Regions from separate parts of the Homo sapiens genome. Here region 2 is linked to region 1. The links are contacts of gene promoters, found by promoter capture Hi-C in human tissues and cell types (Jung and others, 2019). All regions are on one chromosome and are shown on one strand. The core of a region is centred on a gene start or on the middle of the fragment in contact, and the rest is flanking DNA. Distances in the headings are between cores, read along the strand shown.

Region 1 (7,375 bases), core at 2,045-4,544:
CGGATTCAAGAGCAAATGAATGAGCCTTCTTGCTTTAAGCCATGATATTTTGGGCTGGGTTTTTACACGGTAAGACAACTGATACAGTTCCCTATTTATGTAAACACTAAACACGCTCTTTGGTGTTTGTGTTGAGTAAACTGCTTTTATTTAGAACTGCCTCTCCTTTTCACAAGCAGCTGTCCCAACAATTGTTCTACCCTAGATTCTGCAATGAGGGCTGGAACCACTGAGGAAGGTGAGAAGTGACAGACAAGTGAACTATTGTTTTTGAGTCCTCCTTGTTCGATGACTATGAGGAGGGAAGGAGGATAGTTTCCTCTTCTCCTACACTTGAAGCTCCTGTCAGCCCCCTTTCTCACATGTCCTCCAAAGGCCTCTGGGATGTGCAGGTAGGTGGCTACATTTGGTTTTTTTTCATAGACACACTGATAAGACTATTGTTTTGTATTTCCAAAAAGTCAGTACCTCTTAAAAGAAGATGACAGACACTCCCGTATCTGATATACATAGCATTCCTGGATATATTACTGCATTTATTAGTGACATCGATGACATTCAGGTACACCTAGGAGCTGCGCAGGGAAGTGGCTCATGTTCCTCCCTCATGTCCCTTTTGGACATCTGGGGTCCATGCTCCCCTTGAACACTCAACTGGATGTGTCTATTCTAGGAAGGGGCAACCATCCTTTCTGGGTCCAAAGCTCAGCCATACGCCAAGAGGAAAAGATTTGATCAGACTCACTCCTCACTGTAAGCTGATACAGTATATCTCTCTTTAGCTGATCTGAAACCCAGTTGAGACATGTCTAATGATGATGATGATGACGAACTTTTCCCTTTGTATCTTAATTTTCTTCCCCTTCCTCTCTGCCTTCATCCCTTGTTCCACTCTGTTTCCAGTAGAATTATCCAGAAGAAATTTGTTCTCCTCTTTAGATAGATCCTTCGAACCCCTTCCCAACCCAACTCATGTTCTAAAGCTTGTTACGTGTTTTTTTCTTTCCAATTTGACAGACACTTTTGTTGTTGTTTTTGTTTGTTTTTTAACAGGGTCTCATTCTGTCACCCAGGCTGGAGTGCAGTGGCATGATCACTGAGCCTAGAACTCCTGTGCTCAGGCAATACTCCTGCTTCAGCCTCCTGAGGAGCTGAGACTACTGGCATGAGCCTCCATGCCCGCCATCCATTCTGACAGACAGTTCTACTTTCCTAGCAGGAGGCAGAACCCTGAGTAGGACAAATGGATGGCCAGACAAAGCAATCAAGATGGGTGGTGAGAGTGGCTCCATCTTTTTCCTTGCCCTGCAGGCCCCTAGGAGAGGGTTTCTCTGAGACCTGATGTTTCCCACTCCATACCTAACAATGGTGAGGAACTAGGGCCAGGCTTTGTGGATCCGGCACTTTTCTCTAGGCCACAGTTAGCTGCTTAGAGGTTGTGGGAGGAGAAGGATCCTGTTATGACCAATTCTGCAAATGGATTCCAATATGTCTTTACAGTCCCGGGGCCCTGGGAAAGTGTGTAAGTGTGTGTGTATGTATATGTGTGTGTGTGTGTTGGGGGTGGAGTTATTCTGGGTCATGCCACCTGGAAATCACTGCATCAATGAGACCTGGAGATCACTGCATCAATGAGACCTGGAGCAGCTCACTTCATTGTCCCCAGAAAGGCATCTTTGCCCAAGAAGAGAACCAAAATCATGGCTCAGGGAGAGATGGCCCCAAGTTATGCATCTTGAGTGTGTTTGCACAGGTGGAGGGGTGGGTAGGGTAGAAGGTTATTCAACAGTCCTGGTTCTCTGGATCTATCCAGGCCCTCGACCTTTATCCATGTGCTCACTGACTGCTCTGTTGGGGGCCTCTTTCTGCCTCCCAGCTGGCGGTGAGCTAAGAGGCTTCCGGTGTCAGGGAATGCTCCACCTCCGGTGTTCAAGGCCACTTTTTGTGCATGTGTGTGTACCTGTGTGCACGCTTTCCCAGAAGCAAGTCTCCTTCTTGTTGTTTTGGGAGCTTCATGTCCTGGAGCCAGGGCTTTGTGGCTAACGAGTGCTTTGAGAGGATGAAATTCCTGAGCTCTCGCTCGCTGACCCTCTGCCTTCCTTCCTTGGCCAACAGCCCATCCCAGGGAGCGGTGTGATTCTTACCACTGCCTTCACTCCTTGAAAGAACAAACATCTTCACTGCAGCCTCTGAGCGCTGGTGTGAGGTGATTGTTTGTAGTAGATGTTTCCATGACACTCATTTATTTCTTCTGCAAATACAACTGTATTGGGGGAGGGGAAGCAGACAGGCTAGGGTAGGGAGACTGGAACATACGAAGACCTTCCAGTTTCCTATTTACATTCCTCTGTAGGATGAGAAGCTCCTTCCCTTTCCCTGGGTCTCCTCCATCCCAGACTCCTAAAGCTTCCCCCAAACCCATCTTGGTTTCATGCGGCCGAGTCGGGGCTGGGCTCCGAGTAAGGTGGAGAGGGGAGGAACCATGTGCGTGAGGAAGCAGCCTTTATCAGGAGAAGTGGGAAAAAGACCCAACTTTGACTGCTTGGAGTCGGGATTCAGTAATGATGAGCAGCAGTGACCAGCACTGGGGGTGGAGTGTGTGTGCACGAGTGTTCCTGAGGGGTCTGTGGCACTTCGCAGCTGAGCCAATGACTCACTCTAAATCTTAGCGACTTTGAGAGGTCATTTTAGTCATCCCCCGGTCTGCATCACGTTTGGAGGGGGTGGTGCGCTGCTCTGGGGACGTGTCTGGGTGCGGAGGGAGACGGGGTGGGGAGGCGGCGCGTGACCTCTTTGAAAAGATCTCCGGCGAAGGACGTTCCCCGGCTCTCCCGGGCCGCCGGCTCCTGGGTTTCCCCATCATAGAATCAGCATGGTCCTCTCGGGAACTGCTTTTTGCCGGATGGAAACCGGATGTTGGGTTCCATGAGTGGGCGGGGGCTCCACTTCCCTCAGACCTGTCCGGGGTAATTGAGACCCGCCAGGGTCCCGTTAGAAGCTACCATTTCCCTCACCAGAAACTTGCCACGCAGTGTGAGCCGAGAGAGAAGCGGGCAGAGACGCTATACCACCTTCTCCCCGGCAATGCGCATGATTCTGCGGCTCTGTGCTCGCCACACTTCAACGCACCTTGAAATGGGCTCGCCTCCTTCGCGCCGCGACGGGCGGAAGGCTGAGCCAATCGGACCCCCGGCTTGCGGGCGGCGCCCAATAGGCGGGCGGCGGGGGCGGTTCCGGAGGCCCGGCCCGGCTAGGCTTCACCGTGGACCTGGCTGCGCTCCGCCCGGGCGAGTAGTGCAGGTGCCGCTGCGCCGGGGCCGGGGAGGCGCGCGCCGAGCCGAGCGGAGCCTAGGAGGGATGGAGAGCTGGCCACCCGGGCTGCAGGAGCACCGGCGCGGGGCGTAGGCGGCGCGAGGCGGGCGCGAGGCGGGCGCTCGGGCGCGAGGCGCGTGCGGGCGCGGGAGCACTTTGCGATAGGATGAGGCTCCGGGCTGGCGCGGTAGTACTATGATTTGGTATGTGGCCACTTTCATAGCAAGTGTGATCGGCACCCGAGGGCTTGCGGCTGAAGGTGAGTTGAAGTGCGGCGTCCCTCCCCTGCCCCTCCCGGCGCCCTCGGCCCCTCGCGCCCGGCCCCTCGGTTTCCCGGCTCCTTGGCCCCCCGGTTCCCCAGCTCCCCGGCGCGCCTTCCCGCGGGTGAGGCTTGGGCTCCGACGCGGGCCAGGCGGCCCGGGAGCATTGCCGGGGAGGGCCTGGGGGCCGTGGGCTGGAGGGGCGGGCGGGAAGGGGCCAGAGCCCACGGGCTGCCGGGCACTCGGGGAAAGGACGCAGTGGAACCTGGGTCGACTTCGCCCACCACGGGCCCCACGGTGCACACCGGCGCGCCTAGCCCGTCGCCTCCTGCCCGGCGGCCGCCTCCCAGAGCTGCGGGAAACTCTGGCTGCGGGAGTTTGCGGTCTCCGGGCAGGCTGCAGCACGCTAGAGCCCCGCGCCGCGAGGAGCGCCTGCAGGGAGGCGCGACCCGGAGGATCCCTGGGACTGGCGGCACCCGCGTCTAAGGCCCCGGGTTCGCGCGGCCCTGCGGGCGTCCATCGCTCCGCTCGCGCCCCTCCTGCCCACACATCTTGGCAGCTGGAGGTCGGATCCCCCTAGCAGGGGCGCCCGGTGAGAGGAGGATTGATGAGGCCAGCTTCGAGGTGTGTCCGCTTTTGGCTGGACCCCGCCGGCCCCCGCGCCTCTCAGCCGCACCTGGGCCCCGGCCAGGCAAAAGTTCCCCGGGAGCGCGCCGCAGCCGCGCGGGCCCCACGCCGCCCTCCCCAGGCTGCGAGGCAGAGCTGGCTGGGGGCGGCGGCGGGGGAGGGGAGGGGCGGGGAAGGGGGGGTCCCCACGCTGTGAATCCGAGCGGAGGGGGGATTTTCTCTTTCCGCTTTCCTGGGTCTGAGCTGGGGGAGACGCAAGGGGGGAGCCACCGAGTTGGGTGATGCGTGCGTGAGCGCGCGGGCTTTTGCTTTGGAGATGGGCAGAGCGACCTACAAGCCTCTGGGTGGCACCCCCGGCTCTCGGCCCTTGTATGGAAGTGGGAGCGGAGCCTGGAGGGTGCCAGGACTGTGAGCTCAGGGCTGTCAGCGCGCAGACACGACCCGGCTGCGGGCAAGTTCACCAAGCCGGAGGAGATGGCGGCGGGAGAGAACCCGCTGTGGGTGGGAGTCAGCAGGCAGGACTCGCCGACAGAGAACCCTCTCCCAGCGGCATGGGGCGCCGGGTGGGCTGGAGGCGCCTCTCACGGGGTCCCCTCGTCACTCGTCTGTGCAGGGGGGCGTGCTTCAGGAAACTTTCCGGAATGGAATGAATATGTCGCCTCTGCTTCTGAGGGGGGTGGTGGTGTCTGAAAACAGAACGAGCAGAGGGCGAAGCGAAGGGTGATTTTGTTAACTGACATGTTGGTCCGGACGGTTTTAAAACTCTTCATTTGTCAGGTGGGAACACTGAGGCAAGGGTGATGGCGGAAGCTTACGGAACGGGGGGTGGATGTGAGGTGCATCGGGCTGCGCTTGACAGTCTGCCTGTAGCCTCATCCTCTCCCCCATTTCCTTGCCGTCTTCCAATGCCCGCATCCTCCTCCCCTCCCGTTTTTGGTATGTTCCTGCTATGGGACTGTCCCTGAAAGCACAAAAGGATGAGCTGGGATCTTTGAATAGAAAAGAGACGCTGAAGGAAGGCTCTGAAATAGCCTCCGAACCTAAGTCAGGGTGGGCAATGGACTTCTTTGCAAGTTTCAGCCCAGAATAAAGGAATGTGAGTTTATACTGCAGCAACACGCAGAATCGCAAGATAGAAGGAAGGGCTTCCCAAAATTGAAGGCTGCCTGGCATGAAGGTTATGCCCTCTTTCAGGGTGCAGAGGGGTCCTTCTGTCTGGAATGGCTGGACATGTACCCCTGTCTGGAAGCAGAGGGTGACCTTGCTGGTCTTGGGGTCTTTCTTAGCCTCAATTGCTCTGTGTGTGGTAGTTAAGGACCTAGGTCTAGAGCCATATGACTGGGATTCAGATTCTGGCTGTGTCACCTGCCGACCCTGTGACCTTGGACAAATTCTCAACCTCTCTAAATGTCACTTGCTTCAATAGAAAATGTGCCAATAGCATGTACTTTTAGGGTTTTTAGGTGGACATGAGTGTTATAAGGAAACAAAACAACTACCTGTTATATAGTACGTGCTCAGTAAACATTAACATTATTTTCTCAGTGTCCCTGGGATTCCAAGATCCTCCTCAATTTCTTTCCCTTGGGCCATTCAGGGCACTAGGAGCTGAGAATGTGTTGCGGGGAAGTTCAGAAGGCTGCCTGTGTCAGGAAGTAAGACCCCTTTCTGGGCTGACCTTGTCTGGGCAGAACCTCTTGTCCCTGGCATCCCAGGGACACGTGTGCAGGATGTGCGGGCCTCAAAGCTGCTCGGAAGTCCTTTGCAAGGTCTCCAAAGCTGGAGTGTTGTTGGTGGCCAGAGGTTTATGGAAGGACACAGCCCGGGAAGTGAGGGCTTGCAACACACAGCCTCTGGAGAGAGCGGGTGGGCGCCCGCTCGTGTGAGCAGCACCAGCCAGTGTCCACATGCTGCTGAGTCTCCCTGTGAGAGCTCAGCTGTTCCCTGACTGGCAGAGGTGACTTCTGGGGCAGTCCCTCAGCAGGAGGGACTTTGAGATGCCACCCTTAGGATTTGGCCATAGCAGGGGCTGCTCTGGCAGAGGGGGAAAGGGATGATGTTGTGTTGGGACCCGACTCCATCAGCCCTCGGGTGCGGGACAGAGGTTGGAATGGGCTCCTCCTTTTGACTTTGAGTGTGTGTGCCTGGGAGGTGATTAAGGTCAGTGGACAGGTTGGGGAAGTGTGGAGAAGAGAGGGGCTGGAGTGGTACCCAGAACCTGGAAGACAGTGATTGGTGTGCACTCAGTATCTCAGACGGCTGCTGAGCCAGCCCGGGGGAGTTCCTACTCTGTGGGAGGACCCTGGGCCGTGCTTAGCTGATTGTGGACCTTGGATAGGGGAGGAAAGTCCCAGACTTTACTCCCACGGCTGCCTCCTCTGTCTGCCACAGATTCTGTCGTTACATTATCCCTGACTACAGTGTCCCCAAATACAGTGAGGTTCTGACTCAGATCCTGCTGGTAGTTGGGCCATTGCCCTCTACTTTCTACCTGGCCTTGACCTATGCTTCCTTTTGGTAATGAAGATGGGAGGGTGGAGGTTTGGACTCAGAGGTTGCTATCAAGACCCCGTGGTGAGCCTATCGGCTGAGAAGGACTTCACTCAGGAAGTGGTCAGTGGCTGGATGGATGTGTGTGTGTATCCTCAGCACACACATGCTGGGGACAGGAGTGTGTCTGGCAGCCTGTGCCCTGTGGGAAGCTGGGGAGACGGGGATGTGAGAAGGGCTTGGCTGAGGGGCAGAGGGCAATCAGCTTTCAGCCGCGGGCCTGTGGCCCTGCATGTGCTGGTCCTGGAGTTGCAGGGTCCTAGATAGACCTTGAGTGGTTTCGTGTTTATGGCTCTGAGACAGAAGGCTGGAATCTGGTTACAGAGGAGCAGAGGCTGCCTCGCTGGAAGATTCTGAGCCCCAGCATCACTCTGGCCCTCACTCCAACCTCCTGTACCTTTGCCTTCTCCCCAGCCAGGGTGCTGGCTGTGTCTTCTTCCTTGGCCCTCTCTTCCTCAGCCCTGCTGGGTGCTTCAAGATGTGGGGGTGGGAGATAAGCTCCAAAGAGGGCTGGGCCTGAGATTTAAGGTAGCTCTCTTCTCCACATCCTGTGGCCTTCTCAGGTTGGGGTGCAGAGTACTTAGGGAGCGGTCCCCTTCCACCTGCTTCCTAGAAGAGGTGAAGCA
Region 2 (7,375 bases), core at 2,536-5,035, 1.9 Mb after region 1:
TGCAGATAAAAGAATTACAAAATTGCTTCCAAAGATCCCTTCAAGCCCAGGCACTAAGACTTCAATAATTGGGTAGACTGCTAAAATGTAGAACAGACTGACCACCTGCCCACCAAATTCTGGGCACACAGGATGGCAGACCTCTTTCTCCAATTTCCCTTACCGTGAGCCCAACGGCATGTGAATGACTACATGACAATGGAAGATGAAGAGAAAGGCCAGTCCTAGGCCTGGACATGAAACATCTTGCTCAATCTTTCCTGCTACCCCACTGCTCAGCCTTCTAGCCTCTCTCTCTCCCCTCTGTAGCTGAATCCCATGACTCCAAGGTGCTGGTGCCACACGAGGGAAGGAATTCAGACACAGGAGTCTCCAGTCAGTGGAGAGACATTCTGTGGGTCTGTGCAACCTACTCCAGGCAATAAGGAGACTAGTAATTCACTTTATCGCATGAAGCCACTAGGATCTCAGGGTGTATTTGTTTCCACAGCATAGTCTAGTCCATCCTGACAATCCTGACACTCAGTGCCTGTAGTCGGTGTGTGTTCCTAACCTCCACAGAGAACAACTAAATCTGACAGACAAATGAGTAAGAGGACTAAGGCTAATATGCAAGTGAAAGTGATAGCTACATGCTCAGAGGTCAAGAATGTGACTGAGTCAGAAGTTGACAACTTCAGGGAAAGTCCGGAATATACCTATCCCAGTGTAACTGCAGCCAGACTGTATCTGCGCATCTGAGGTGTACTTTATCCCTCTCTTTAGAGAGAAGCCAGTCCCACATTTGCCCTATATGACTGGCCCTCCTTATCCACGGGTTCCAAATGCATAGATTCAACCAACTGGGGATCGAAACTATTCAAAAACAAAACCAACAAAAAAATCCAAAACAATACAGTAAAAATTTATATAGCATTTGCATTGTATTAGCCATTATAAGTAATCTATAGTTGACTAAAAGTATACAGAAGGATATGCATAGATTTTCTACAAATAATTTCCGATTTTAGGTAAGGGGTTTGAGCATCTGCAGATTTTAATATTGGAGGGAAATCCTGGAACCAGTGCCCCTCAGATACTGAAGGCCAGGACAACTGCACAAGCCTTTCAAGTCTGTAGGTCAGGAACACAGTGGCAGACACTGACCAAAGAAACAAGCTGACGGTAAAGGCACAGCCTGGATGTCTTTGGGGAAATGCAGAGAGCAAACAATTTTAAAAACACAAAACAAACATACCCTATCCTCCTTCCCTCTCTGTGGGAAATTTATTACATTAAAAAAAAAATGCTGGGTGCAGTAGCTCACACCTGTAATCCCAGCACTTGGGGAGCCCGAGGTGGGCGGATCACGAGGTCAGGAGATCGAGACCTCCTGGCTAACATGGTGAAACCCCATCTCTACTAAAAATACAAAAAAATTAGCTGGGCATGGTGGCACACACCTGTAGTCCCAGCTACTCGGGAGGCTGAGGCAGGAGAATTGCTTGAACCCAGGAGGTGGAGGTTGCAGTGAGCCGAGATCGCGCCACTGCACTCCAGCCTGGGCGACAGAGTGAGACTCCATCTCAACAACAACAACAACAACAACAACAAAACCACCACCACCAACAACAAAACCACCAACAACAACAAAACCACCACCAACAACAAAACCACCACCAACAACAAAACCAACAACAACAACAAAACCAACAACAACAACAAAGCATATCTTCCCTCTATCCCCTCAATTCTAGTGCTTGCAATAACGCTGTTCACTTCGAGAAGAACCCTGAATAATCCTATCGGACAGAGGGGTGCTCTTGGTGAGAAGGAGTCTGGAAATGCAAAGAGAGCTAGACACTGGAGCGGGCGCAAACTCCAAAACAACCAGGAGAGCAAGCCACTCTGGCTGCCCACCCTAGCCCCGCCAGCCCTGCAGCCAGGGTCAACACCTTTGCCAGGGTTTCTGGCCTTCTCACAGGCCCAGCTGTGACCAGAAGGCTCAATTTCACAGCTGTTCAGCTTCATATTGAACTTGTGCTTCCCAGCTGTAGTGCATTATTACTTGTGTTTGTTTGCCATCAGCTTTAATTAAGAGAGGTTTAATTTTCCAACATTATTTTGGCTCCTCTCTGCCCCAAAACCCACATGGAGAGCTGCTGTTGTTTTCTCCCCAGGCTCCACGATGGCATGTGCCCAGTAACAATGGAGATAATGTCCCACAGTCCCCCATGAGATATAACATGCCCAGGCGGCAGCACGTGACTAGGGTCTATGGTAAATGTGTCTTCCCCACGCTGCAAAGCCTCCTAATCAAAGTAAAATTTTCCCCTCTGCAAACCCAGGTCCTCCTTGTATTCTCTATAGTATTTTTTTAACATCTTCCCATGAGCTTCACATGGAGCCAGCCTGAGGAACTCAAACTTGATTCCAATCTGATTAGCCAACGTGGCCCTATCAGCTGAGACAGTAACATTTATCACATTAATAGGAAGGATAGAAGAAAACCGGGATCCCATCCAGCAGGAGCATTTTTATCACATGTTGCACTGACTTACAAATCCAATTATCACCAGCTGAAGGTCTTAACAGCCTTTGAATTGCATCTTTCAAATCTTAAAGGACCACAGTGCACATTTTCTTAGATTCCTCCTGCTGTACTTGATTCCATGCAGTTACAGGTATCTAGTCCACATGACAACTTCAGGGATAAAGCTGTCTGTGGAATGTTTCCCCTGAGTTTAACCAGGGAATTCAAGAGAAGCATGGATTAGGGACTGTCTTTTGACATTATTATATTCAACAAACATGAACTTGTAATTTACTTCACAGTCAGAGGTAGGATCTAGGGACCTAAGTGTTAGAGGGCTCTTAGTTGAGCACAAGGGAACTCGCAAAGAGTGGGTAGTGTCCTTTGCAGGGCCACGTGGGACTAAGAGTGTACTTACAAATTTAGAGAGCTGTGATAACGAATATCATGCGGACTCTGAAGAAACATCACCCAAAGCTACAAATATAAATGTCTGAGAACAGTGCTAAATAAAGACCAGTGACTTCTGTTATGGCAAAGAAAGAAGACTGTCAAATATTCTGTCCAAGAAAACAGAGCATAAAGTCGAGCAAAATTGACAAAATCAACCATTCCAGTGGAGTGGTAATTGAACGAAATCTTAACAATCTGAGAAGCATATGTTCTTGTGAAACTTCTGAACTTCGGTTAAGAACTGTGGGGCTCTGTGGTATTCTGACTCCAGCCCCAGCTCAGTCATGGAGGTTCCTCCAGGGTAGGGTAATACCTGAGGACCAGTGGCATCTCTGCCCTGGTTCAGAGGCTCACTTACTTTGAATGGTGAGTGACACCACAGCCAGTGGCACTGTTGGTAGAAGTCATTCTCTCAAAGGCTAGAGGGGAGGGCCAATGACTACCCCAGGTTCTGCTCAGGGCTAGGCAAGTACAAATCTGCATGCAAACACACCATAGCCTGGAGAGGGCTCAAGTCAGGCCTATATTCTTAGTTGACACTGAAGCTGGAAACCTGAGCAGAAAGGACATGACAGGACTCAGTAGGAAGCAAATATCAGGAGACATTGGAAATGGTCCGCACTTTGAAGGTGCTTCACTACCCATACACAAATCTATCAGAAGGGGACTAACTGGCTCAAGATGGTTGAGCACAACTTCTGTTTAAGCCTTGGATGTCAACTCAGTCCTGGGGGGCAACCTATGGGAAGAGAGACTTGAAAATTAAAACAGGATATAAAATTAAAGAAAATTTAAAAACATCAAAAAATCCCTAAGACATTAGTGACTGTTCATGCATAGCAAAGAAGACAGAGTCCACAGATTAGCCAGTTTGCTAAACAAGGAAAGACATAAACAGAAAAAAACAGCAAAATACAACCTTTGCGGGAAAAGTGAGGCTAGGAATATTTGCTAAAATATATTTTCTAAAACGTGCACTTAAAAAAAGTATGAGATATGCAAGGAAAGAGGAAACTGTGACCCATACAAAACAAAGTAGGCAATAGAAACTCTCTGATTGTCCCCAGATGTTGAATTTACCAGCTGAAATTTCAAGCCATTCTTATAAATATGTTTAAAAAACTAAAGAAAACCATGTTTTTGAAATTAAAGGAATATATGACAACAAAAAAATCCATATGTAGAGAGTCTAACAAAGGAAACAAAAGTATAAAGAGAACCAAATGCAAATTATGGAAACAAAAAGTACAATGAGAAAATTAAAATCTCACTGGAGGACCCAACAGCAGATTCGAGATGACAGAAGAAAGAATCCATGAATGTAGAAATAAATCCATATAAATTACCCAGTTGGAAAAAGAGGGGAAAAAAGACAGAAGAAAAATAAACAAAGCCTCAGAGTGCCAGCATATATAATAATGGGAATCCCATAAGGAGAGCAAAGAGGAAGCAAAAAATACACTCAATGAATAATAGTGAAAACTTCCCAAATTTGATTAAAAACACTAATCTAGATATCTAAAAAACTCTACAAATCCAAGGTAGGATAACTACAAAAAGAGCCACACCTTGACATATAATCATCCAACTTTTGGAACCAAAGAAAAAAATAAAACAACCATATAAGAAAAATTAATTGATAGCCATCCAAAAAAATTATAGGGGAACACTGAGAAGTTTAAGATGGCTGTGACCTCACATCTGAAATAATGAAGGCCAAGGCAATGGGATAACATATATTCAAGTACCAAAAGGAAAATAAAATACTATTAACCGGAAATTTAGTTTTCAGAAAAACCTTTTTTTTCAAATATGAGGGATAAATTCAGACATTTTCCACATTTTACCAGAATTTAGTTACTATCAATCTAAAGTAGATTGTGATAAGCTAAAATGTGTAGCATACTCATTAGAGTTACCACTAAACATTAACTCAAATAGACAAAATATTAATACAATAATTAAATGGTACACTATAATATTTATCTATATTTATTTAATACAAAATAAGACAATGTAAAAGAAATAGAGGAACTTAAAAAGAGAAATCACACAGAAATCAAATAGCAAAATGTCAAATGTAAATCCAGTCATAAAAATAAGTACCAGTAAATATGAATAATATAAATATCACAATGAAAAGGCAGATATTAGTGTTATTCACAATGGTAAAGACACAGAATCAGCCCAGGTGCCCATCAGTGGTAGATTGGATAAAGAAAATGTGGTACATATAAACCATGGAATACTACGCAGCCATAAAAAAGGAAGGCAATCATATCCTTTGCAGCAACATAGATGCAGTTGGAAGCCATTGCCCTAAGTGAACTAACACAAAAACTGAAAATCAAATATTGCCTATTCTCACTTATAATCAGGAGTTAAACACTGGGTAAATATGGACATAAAGATGGGAATAATAGACATGGGGGAATATAAGGAGGGGAGGAGTACAGGATTGAATAACTACCTGTCAGGTACTATACACACTATGCAGGTGAGAGATTCAATCATATTCCAAACCTCAGCGTCAGGCAAGATCCCTTTGTAACAAACCTGCACATGTACCCCCTGAAAAAAAAACCAAATAAATAGAAACAAAAATAAAATAAAATAAAGGCAAAGATTGTCAGATTGGATAAAAAAAGTAAGATCCAATTTCTTATAAGCTATCTAAAAATCTAAAATATTTAATAATCTCAGGTTTCTACATGTTAGATTCAAAGCTAAAAAGAGGTTAAAAGTAACAGGATGAATATATATACCATGCAAACAGTAACCATAAGAAAGAAGGCATGTAAATTGGAAAGGAAATTTTTTTAATACCAGAAAAAAATAAACTTTAAGACTAGAACTATTTCAAAGACAAGCTGGGATATTTCAGTATGATAAAAGAGTTCATATATCAGGAGGATGTAATACTTATATAGGTATGCATACCTAAAAGCACAATCTCAAAATACAGCAAGCAAACCTGACAAAATTGAAAGAAAAAATAGACTAGTCACCATTTAAAGTTGGAGATTTCAATACCCCACTGTCAAGAAACAACAGAACCACAAGTCTTGAGCAACACTATCAACCAACTTGACATATTCAAAATTTATGGAATGCAGTTAAATCGGTGCTTAAGGGACATTATACCTGTAAACGTCTATGTTAAAAAAAGGCAAAAGATCTCAACCAATAACCTAAGCTTACATCTAAAAAACTGGAATAGAAAACTAAATTCAAATCAAACAGAACAAGTGATATAATAATGATAAGAGAATGAAAAAAAACAAAAAAATTAGGGAAAGTCAATAAAACAAGAAGTAAGCTCCTTGATAAAACTGACACATTTTTTGTTGGATTAACCAGGAAAAAGAGAGAAGAAAAATAGTAAAGACTCTACGTTTTCAGACTATGAACAGATTAGAAGACCATACTATTAACAACCTTATGCCGACAAATTAGATAATTTATATGAAATGTGAAAATTCCTAGAAAGACACACATTTCCAAAAATGACTCCAGAAGAAGTAGAAAATCTGAATAAAACTAAATCAAGCATTTAAATTAGCAATGAAAAATCTTCGGCAAAGAAAAGCCAGGCTTCTGTGACTTCGGAAGTGAATTCTACCAAATATTTAAAAACAAAACATGTCAATACTTCACAAACTCTTCCAAAATATAGAAAAAGTCAAACAATTTCTCAACTTATTTCATGAGTCTAGGGTCATCCAATATTAAAGCCCAAAAACATAAGGAATAAAAATACAGATTACTATATCTCATAAACATAGATGCAAAACTCTTTAATAAAACATTAGTAAGCTGAATCCAACAATATTTAAAGCAGATCATACACCCATGCTAAGTGGGACTTATTGCAAAAATGATAGCTTGACTTAGTATCTAAAAATCAATTAATGAAATATAGTATATAATAAATTTTTTAAAGCCACATGATCATCTCAAAAGACAAAGAAAAACATTTTTAAAAATTTAGCACACATTCATGATTTAAAATGAACAATAAAAATTTCTCAACCAAGAGGATTAGGTTCAATCCTACAAAAGGTACCTTAGAAAAATCCACAAGTAACATCATACAACAATGATGAAAGACTAAATGTTTTCCCCCATGATCAAGAAAGAGGCATGAATGTCTAATTTTGACACTTCTTTTCAACACTGTATTAGAGGTTCTACCCATGCAATATGGGACAAAAGGAAGAAAGAGAGAAGGAGGCAGTGAATGAGGGAGGGAGAAAGGACAGGAAGGAAGGGAGGGAGACAGGAAACGAGAGAGGGAGGAAAAGAGAGACAGAGAGACAGAGGGAGAGAGGGACAAAGAAGGAAAAGGATTGAATAAAGAAATAAAATTGTCCTTATTCTCAGGTGATACACTCTGGATATGGAAAATTC

Evidence for each region. The method cuts DNA at HindIII sites, captures the fragments that hold promoters and counts their contacts. A contact is called where the count stands out against the background at its distance.
Region 2: a fragment that was not itself captured here is called in contact with the fragment with the promoter of IGSF9B in region 1 in 1 of the 25 tissues and cell types used here (dorsolateral prefrontal cortex).

The regions. Positions count from the first base shown.
Region 1 is chr11:133,952,887-133,960,261 of GRCh38, reverse strand. IGSF9B (immunoglobulin superfamily member 9B) reads left to right here and starts at 3,294. Exons shown (of 20, transcript NM_001277285.4): 1 at 3,294-3,571. The coding sequence starts at 3,508. RefSeq lists a silencer at 3,116-3,465. The HindIII fragment of the contact is 2,013 bases long and covers 1,696-3,708 here.
Region 2 is chr11:132,018,029-132,025,403 of GRCh38, reverse strand. All of the region lies in intron 2 of NTM (neurotrimin), which reads right to left. Among named protein-coding and RNA genes, the nearest start is that of NTM-AS3, 120 kb to the right of the region's middle. The HindIII fragment of the contact is 9,113 bases long and covers 1-7,375 here.